Linked DNA regions of Homo sapiens: regions 2 and 3 are each linked to region 1. Evidence: promoter capture Hi-C in human tissues and cell types (Jung and others, 2019). All regions are on one chromosome and are shown on one strand. Each heading gives the region's core, a stretch centred on a gene start or on the middle of the fragment in contact. The rest is flanking DNA. Distances are from core to core; before and after follow the strand shown. Region 1 holds the start of PIGY (phosphatidylinositol glycan anchor biosynthesis class Y). Region 2 overlaps FAM13A (family with sequence similarity 13 member A). Region 3 overlaps FAM13A (family with sequence similarity 13 member A).

Evidence for each region. Contacts are between HindIII fragments. The study calls those that stand out against the background at their distance.
Region 2: a contact is called between a fragment that was not itself captured here and the fragment with the promoter of PIGY in region 1, in 2 of the 25 tissues and cell types used here (mesenchymal stem cells and mesendoderm cells).
Region 3: a contact is called between a fragment that was not itself captured here and the fragment with the promoter of PIGY in region 1, in 2 of the 25 tissues and cell types used here (IMR-90 fibroblasts and aorta).

Annotation. Positions count from the first base shown.
Region 1 is chr4:88,522,508-88,525,255 of GRCh38, forward strand. PIGY (phosphatidylinositol glycan anchor biosynthesis class Y) reads right to left here and starts at 1,269. Exons shown (of 2, transcript NM_001042616.3): 1 at 991-1,269. It overlaps PYURF (PIGY upstream open reading frame), which reads right to left and starts at 1,269. Exons shown (of 2, transcript NM_032906.5): 1 at 991-1,269. The coding sequence starts at 1,193. It overlaps PIGY-DT (PIGY divergent transcript), which reads left to right and starts at 1,303. Exons shown (of 2, transcript NR_134663.1): 1 at 1,303-1,425; 2 at 2,258-2,484. It also overlaps a transcript of HERC3 not described here. RefSeq lists an enhancer at 567-626. The HindIII fragment of the contact is 23,527 bases long and covers 1-2,748 here.
Region 2 is chr4:88,786,179-88,788,878 of GRCh38, forward strand. It overlaps FAM13A (family with sequence similarity 13 member A), which reads right to left. Exons shown (of 24, transcript NM_014883.4): 10 at 1,575-1,754. Among named protein-coding and RNA genes, the nearest start is that of FAM13A-AS1, 78 kb to the left of the region's middle. The HindIII fragment of the contact is 8,280 bases long and covers 1-2,700 here.
Region 3 is chr4:88,892,245-88,894,944 of GRCh38, forward strand. The region is part of intron 6 of FAM13A (family with sequence similarity 13 member A); the gene reads right to left. Among named protein-coding and RNA genes, the nearest start is that of FAM13A, 160 kb to the right of the region's middle. The HindIII fragment of the contact is 3,437 bases long and covers 1-2,700 here.

The DNA of each region.
Region 1 (2,748 bases), core at 19-2,518:
CGAAAGCACTAAGTCTGCAGTGAGCTAGTTATAAACGTAAATCAAATGATAATTTCAAGGTTCGAGAAAATTGAATAATATGTTTATTACGGGAAAAAGAAATACGAAAAATTGCTAGCAATCTACCATTCAAAGATAACCACTGATAACATTTTGGTGTTTATGCGATTTGTAATACTAGCGTTAGTGTTGTCAATATTCAATTTTGGTAGCTTGGAAACTGTAGAGCTGTCTTCCCAAAAACTAGTTAAAGAGGCTTCTACGAAACCTGCTAGGCCACAACTAAGAGCCACTGGGCAGCAAACACAGCTGAATTGCTTAAGATTGTCAGGCACCAGTTGTACAAGACACTTTCACAAGAATCTGGAGGGTACAACAATACTTTTCATTATCTTGGCTTAAAAACCGGAAGGCTTCGGACTTGTCCTGAATCGCAGTGGTTCATAAACCTGGTGGTACATTAGAAATCATTTAGGGACCGTTTAAGAACACAGATAAGCTGGGCGTGGGGGCGGCGCCTGTCTCTCGACTCCTGAGGAGGCTGAGGCGGGAGTTCTAGGCCAGTCTGGGCAACGTAGGGGGCACCCTGTCTCTTAAAAGGAAAAAAAAAAAGGAAAAGAAAATACAAATGTTCAGGTCCCATCCCGCGAGCATTCCAAGTCTGCCCGTCTTGGGGGCTGTCGGGGAATCGGCATTTTTAAAACGGTCCCCGGGTGATTGCAATGCGCAGCCGGTCGCGAACCCTAAAACGCTTCGAGCCATTCCCGCAGGCTGGCGTTGCGTTCTGGGAGATGTGGGACGCAGCTCCCCTGGCCTCCGGTCTCCCCCGTCCTGCCCGCTGTGCGCCCGGCGAGGACAGAGTCCAGAATGTGGCAGCGGAGAGTACCTGACCGACCTACAAGGCCCCAGTGGCTGCAAGAGGCCGCGGTCCACCGCTCCCTTTCCGCCCACCGGGAGGCTGCAAAGGAAGGGCCAAGGCCAGCGAGTTACCTGAGCGGCTTCTTGGAGAGCGGGCACACCAGGAACTCCAGCAGCGCCGGATCGAAGTCGCGGGGCGGCTCCTCAGTCTTCTTGCCCCGGTCGGCCAAAGGCCGCGACCCCGACGCGTGCAGGCACCTACGGGCGACCGCGGACGGCGGCGCGCGCGTTCCCCGCAGCGCTGAGGCGAGCCTGCAGCGTGCTCCACTCAGCATGGTCTGGCAGCCGGAGACCAGGCCTCACCGCAGCCTCGCCACCCGTGGCCGAGCTCCCGGCTTCCCGTTCGTCCAGGCCAGCCGGGCAGGCCCCGCCCCCTGGTCCTCCAGGAAACGCTGCCGAGGAGTAGGCGGGGCGGGCGCTTTGGTTCCGAGGGTGCTTCTGCTCCGACTGCTTTTCCCACGGGCGTCATCTATAGTCCGGAGGACAGCCCCAGGGCAGAGGCCTCTGGTGAGTGCCCCGCCGCCTTACCAGACTACAAACTAAACCAGTGTTTAAGTCAAGGTGTCTGGGTTTTCACCGGGGCCTGTCCAAGGATGCTAGGAAGCCAGTGGCCAGGCCTCAGAGTTGTAGGGAGTTAGGCTTGGACCTACGTGGTTACCTCCAAGTGAAGTTTCAAACACACTGTTATGTATTGTACCGAATGTATTGTCATGGATGTATTGAAAGCGCTCATTTGTTTCATGTACATCTTTACTATACCATTAGTTTCTGTAACCTTGTTTGGCTTTTTTCTCTCTCATTAAAAAAAGTGAGAACCTGGAAGGAAGGGCCTAGGCCTCTGACCCTCCAAAATATATAAATTCTTCCTGCCTGAGACCCAGTCATTGTGAAGTATTTGCGTAATAAAGCACAGCTAATTTACTTCTATAAATGAGCTTGGAGGCCGCAAGGGGCCTAAATAGCTGTGTAACAGGCAGATGTGATCTGCCTGTTAAAGATCCATTCAATGAGTGGGTGATCCATTCAGTGAATTTGTATCCCAGGTTTGCTTCCCACTCTCCAAGAAAGTGACCATGTTAGATCTCTTTCTTACAGTGTAGTAGATGGGAACTTGGGCTCTGGGGCCTGACAGCTTGGTTCCCTGTCCACAATTAGTAGCTGGATGACTTTGGCAAATGACTTAACTGCTCATTTTCCTTATCTGTATAAGACTAATAATTGTACCTACCTTGTAGGTAGGGCATAAATGTGATTGTGCATTCGAAGAACATTTAGAAAAGTGCCTGGCACAAATTAATGCTCCATTAATGTTGTCTATTTTTATTTTTAGTTCATCTAGTTTTTCCATGTCCGAAGACTCAAAGATTCTCATTAGTCATCCATTTTTTCCCTCCGTTCTGCTGAATATCAACCTGAACTTTTTTTTTGCATCACTGGGCATTATCATTTCACACTTTGAGTTCCTGGAGCTGGAAGTACAGAATCCAAAAATATGTTTATATTTTCAAATTTCTCTTCCACTCCAATGTAAAAATAAACTGACAAATGTTTATATGTTCATCCTAATTTTTTGTTTGTTTTTTGGGCCATCCTGTTTTTTTTAAAAAAAACAGTTTATTTTTTGATGTTCTTTGTTCACTAATGCTCAGAAGATTTTCTAAGGTTAATGTAGTTTATAGGATACCAAAAAGGAAACACTTCTACTGGATAGATATTTAAGAGATAATGAAAGTCTCTGGTTGCCTCACCTTCCTTCCCTCACAAAGCAATCTTTCACAGTCATAACTTTCCGTTATTAGAGTTACTAACGGACTAGAGAATAGGGCAGTT
Region 2 (2,700 bases), core at 25-2,524, 260 kb after region 1:
CTCCCCCAGACCTGCTGCCAAGCATCCACCAACAGCACCATCACTCTCTGTTCTCTCTCATGCTCCCCACCACTTCCCACCTCCACCTGCTAGCCCTCTGTCCAAACAAAGAGGGTGGAAAGCAGGATATCGTGACACACTGAGGATATTTTTAAAATGCAAAATGTTGCTACATACTCCTCAGCAAAAAATGAGGCAGAGGATAAGAACAGTGTTAAATGAATAATTTGTGCTTTCTCTATAACACATTAGAGGTAGTACACAAACTAATTATACTTCTAAACACTTTCTATAAACATGTCAGTAGCTAATTTTAAATGTAAATATCTCATGTCATGCCACAGGAGAAGAAATGTAAATATCTCCTATATTATACTTTTTCTATTTTCTAAATGGAATATTACAACTATTCTATCCACCAGCTCCATGAAAATTTATTTTAAAAGTACTGCACATGCTACTTGTAAATCAGTGGGTTATATTATTGATACTGCTTTATTTCTAAAATTACATTTGCTAATATAGCTCTTAAACATCTCGGTGAGGTATAGCATGAAACTTATTTATACTGTTTATCTTTTATGTTTTTCTTTAAGCGAAAAAAAGTTTTTTTTCTTTTTCCATAAAGGGTTTAATGTAGATTATGAGTCAAAGTGAAAAAGAATGCGAATGAGGGGTGTGGGACTATTATATATTCATAAAGATTAAAAATTAAGAAAAGAAAGAAAAAGAATGAGGGGTGCTAGGGTCTGGTTCAGGTTAGTTTCTGACATTTAATAAGGAGTCATTATTAAACCATAAAGAGGCTAAAGGCCATAGTCAATAAAAATAACCTTGGAACTTTCAGGGAAAATATATGAATATCTGTATAGTCTATTCTCTATATAAATTTATTTTCCTTGACAATTTAAGTCATGATTATTAAATAATATAAATGGTAATTGTTCATCTGTATTTTATTAAATCTTTTCATGGAGAATAAAGCTCTTTGTAACACTATTCTTAAAATTCATACTATGGGAATGCCTTAAAATTAGTGATTATTATAATAAACAACTTAAGCTTTTCATTTTTTGAGTAGATTTAAGCCCAACCTTTCTTATACTAAAACATAATCAAATGTCAGAGTATTATAGGGATATCTGACTATTTAATCACATAAATATAATGGAGAAATCAGCTGCTCCATAAACAAGTCTAAATAGTCAACTTAATGTTGTCTAGCAAGAAAAAAAATACCTCTGGACAAGCATATGGTAACTTTCTCTGCCCATGGTTCAGAATCCCTCTAAATAAGATATTTATGAGGAAGCCATAGGGTGTATTCAATCAGAGGTGGCTTCTAACAACATACCAAATGTCTGGATGAAACGGAAATATTTATGCAATTACCTATGAATTTCCAAATGTAGCTAAGTTTAGAATGGACAAACTGATAACTCTTAAAGTTTTAACCTAAATACTGAAATGGGAGAGGACCAGGAGGTATGACTATAACACAGCGACTAATTTGGGTGTATATTTCTTTTAAAAAGAGAAAACTCAAGTAAGAGGAAGAATCAATGCCAACTCACTTGTCTCTCCCATGTCGAACTTCATCCTGCTCCTTGGACTGGCGGCGGCGCTGTCTGGCAGATGTGGCAGAAGATGCTGATAGTGTTCCAGATTCTGAGTCCTCTGAACTTTGACCTCCAGAGTTATTAACATCAAAAAGATGTTGTTCTACAGCTGATCGGATGGTTCTTTCTAAGAGTCTGGCAAAAAAGAATGCAGAGTCATTCAAGCAGTCAAGTTCATCAGTGATCACCTTAAAAAATCTGTGCCTACAGTTTTGGGAACATCTGTATTTCCAGTGGAAAGTCTTTAGAACTTCATAAGCAAAGAGAGATGATGAGGCATTAATCTAAAAAATATCTGCATTATGTGTTAAAACCAAAACTAAACGAAAACAATTCTGCCAATTTAACAACTTTCTCATCTTTGTGAAGCCAGTATTGCTGAAATGCTCATGGCAAGTCTAGCAACAATTATGAGGCATTCAGGAAACAGGGGTCAATCAATATAAGGAAGAATGAGGAAAGATTTTTTTTGCCCTCATAGAATAATAGTAGACCTATTCTTACAAAGGCAATTTCATACCAATTCTACAGAGGAAGAGAGAGTGATTTGCAAAGCAAACTGGCACAAATAATTTTATGATGCCTATTATCTATTTACAATCTAAGACAAAATTATATGAAAATAATGATATTTTGGGAAAAAACTCACCAGAACAATTAGAACTCACAACAGCATGGCATAATCTTTCCTAACCTCTATTCAATTAAATTGTGATGTTTATAATTAAAGCTGTATTCATGCAAACACCCCAGAACATATTACTGAAATTGGAAGGATAGATTTACTTTGTTCAACATGAGGAAAACACATAAGCACAAAGTGCTGAAAAGTGCATGGTAAGCTAGAAATGGAATCATTTTTAAAGCTGTAGAATCTTTCAAGGTGTGTATACCTTTTAGCACCACATTATTTCCAAATAAGCTGGTATGGAAAGCTCTTAACTCAGAGTCCTCAAACCTTGTTTTTCTTCGCTTGAAAAAGAACTATATATATATGTTCTAAATGCTCAGGCTGAGAAGTAGCATTTACTTAAATAAACTGTGTTTTGAGAACTTAACTAATTTCAGATTTTTCAAATGC
Region 3 (2,700 bases), core at 45-2,544, 370 kb after region 1:
TCTCGGCTCACTGCAAGCTCCACCTCCCGGGTTCACACCATTCTACTGCCTCAGCCTCCCGAGTAGCTGGGACTACAGGCGCCCGCCACCACGCCTGGCTAATTTTTTGTATTTTTAGTAGAGATGGGGTTTCACCATGTTAGCCAGGATGGTCTCGATCTCCTGACCTCGTGACCTGCCCGCCTCGGCCTCCCAAAGTGCTGGGATTACAGGCGTGAGCCACTGCACCTGGCCCTGTCTTCTAAAAGAAAGAAACAACAACAACAAAAATACTGACGCCAACTACTTTCATACAAAATAAAAGTAGCAGTTGAATAATTTATTTGTTCACTTTCAAGTCTTTATTAAGGGTCCACTATGTGTCTGGCATTCTAAAATAATTATTTTTTTAAGTGCCAAGATCATACTTAAAAGTCAGATGTAGAAATTTTCCCTTAAAATCTGGGAGTAAGTCAAGGAGGCATGCTATCACCGCTTTTACCTAACCTTGTACTGAAAGCACTACCAACACAGTAGGACAAAACCAAAAGAAAGAAAAAAAGAAAACAAGTCAAATGATAAAAGGCTTGAAAAAGAATAAACAATGCTCATTATTTTTTGCTGATATTACATTATTTTTAGTTGATACAATATTGATTTATTTGATCATATTAAAAAAATCTTTTATACATTAAAAGGTACTATATTCAATATGAAAAGAAAACCAAAAAACTGAGAAAAGGTACTTTGAATACATACAACTGATAACAGCTAACAAACAAACTCTTACAAATCATTAAAAAAGTGATAATCCAATAGTAAAACTATCAGTGATAGAAGAAAGCAGCACACAAATTAATCATCACAGATATGATCAAAGCTTAATAAACATATGACAACATAAACATATGAAAAACTGCCCATTTGTATTAATCAGGATAGACTTGATTATGATGAGTTTACAAATTAAACCCCAAATCTCAGTAGCTTCACAAAACAGAGGTTTATTTTTTGGTCATGACACAGATCCAAAACAGGTTGACAGGGGGCTCTGCTCCACAAAGAAACGAAAAGGTCCATGCTCCACTGTGCAGCTGCCGTACAATAAGAAACAGTTCAGGCTGGGTGCAGTGGCTCACGCCTTTAATCCCAGCACTTTGGGAGGCCAAGGCGGGCGGATCACGAGGTCATGAGATTGAGACCATCTTGGCTAACACGGTGAAACCCCGTCTTACTAAAAATACAAAAAATTAGCTGGGCGTGGTGGCGGGCGCCTGTAGTCCCAGCTACTCAGGAGGTTGAGACAGGAGAATGGCGTGAACCCAGGAGGCGGAGCTTGCAGTGAGCCGAGATTGTGCCACTGCACTCCAGCCTGGGCGACAGAGCCAGACTCTGTCTCAATGAATGAATGAATGAATGAATAAATAAATAAATAAATAAATAAATAAGCCGGGCGTGGTGGCGGGCGCCTGTAGTCCCACCTACAGCTAGCTACTCGGGAGGGTGAGGCAGGAGAATGGCGTGAACCCGGGAGGCGGAGCTGCAGTGAGCCGAGATCGCGCCACTGCACTCCAGCCAGGCTGATGGAGCGAGACTCCGTCTCAAAAAAAAAAAAAAAAAGAAACAGTTCAAGAGTTACGCACAAGCTTTTGGATTCTCTCCTGAAGTAACACTATATTGACCCAAAGTAGTTGACTGGCCCGACCTAACTGCAAAGGGGCTGGGAAACACATGGATATTCAGTGTCTCTGGCACAACTAGAAATTAGTGCAATCCAAATTAAGGCAATAGCAAGATGCATCTTATAACCATTAGGTTGAGAAAAAGCAGTAACAACAAAAACTCCTATTACCAAGGACTGGTGAGGATGTGAAAAATGGAAGCAGTCATATACAGATGTTAGCATGTAAATTGATGCAACATCCTAAGAGCATTTGAAATGTCCTGACAAGTTAAAGATGCACATGCTTACGATCTAATATTTCCATGTGCATAGAATGAGTCACATGAAAATTATTCACTTAAAAATATTTGTAATAGCAAACTATTGGAAGTGACTTAAATATTGGAGACAATCTAAGTATTGGGGAAAAATTAGAATAACAACCATATTCTTACTGAAAGTTAATATTGACAGCATATTGAACAGAAAAAAAATGAAGCCACAGAAGGCAACACACTATGTACTATTTTTATATAATGTTTTAAAACATGCAAAGACTATAGCATATATTATGTATAAGTATATATATAGATATGCAGTGTTCCTATAATAACATGCATGGAAATGATAAGTATTAATTTTATTTTTATTTTTTGATACAGAGTCTCACTCTGTCACTCAGGCTGGAGTGCAGTGGCAATCTTGGCTCACTGCAACCTCAGCCTCCCAGGTTCAAGCAATTCTTGTGCCTCAACCTCCTGAGTAGCTGAGATTACAGGCATGCGCCACCATGGCCGGCTAATTTTTGTATTTTGAGTAGAGACAGGGTTTTGCCAAGTTGGCCAGGCTGGTCTAGAACTCCTGGCCTCACGTGATCCACCCACCTCAGCCTCCTATAGTGCTGGAATTACAGGCATGAGCCACCACACATGGCCTAATTTAATTTTTCAATAGTGTTAATTTGAGAGAGGAAAGATGGTACATTAGGATACATCAGTCATATCCTTTAATTCTAAAGCTACTTATATCCTTTAATTCTACCATAGGTAATAAAATCT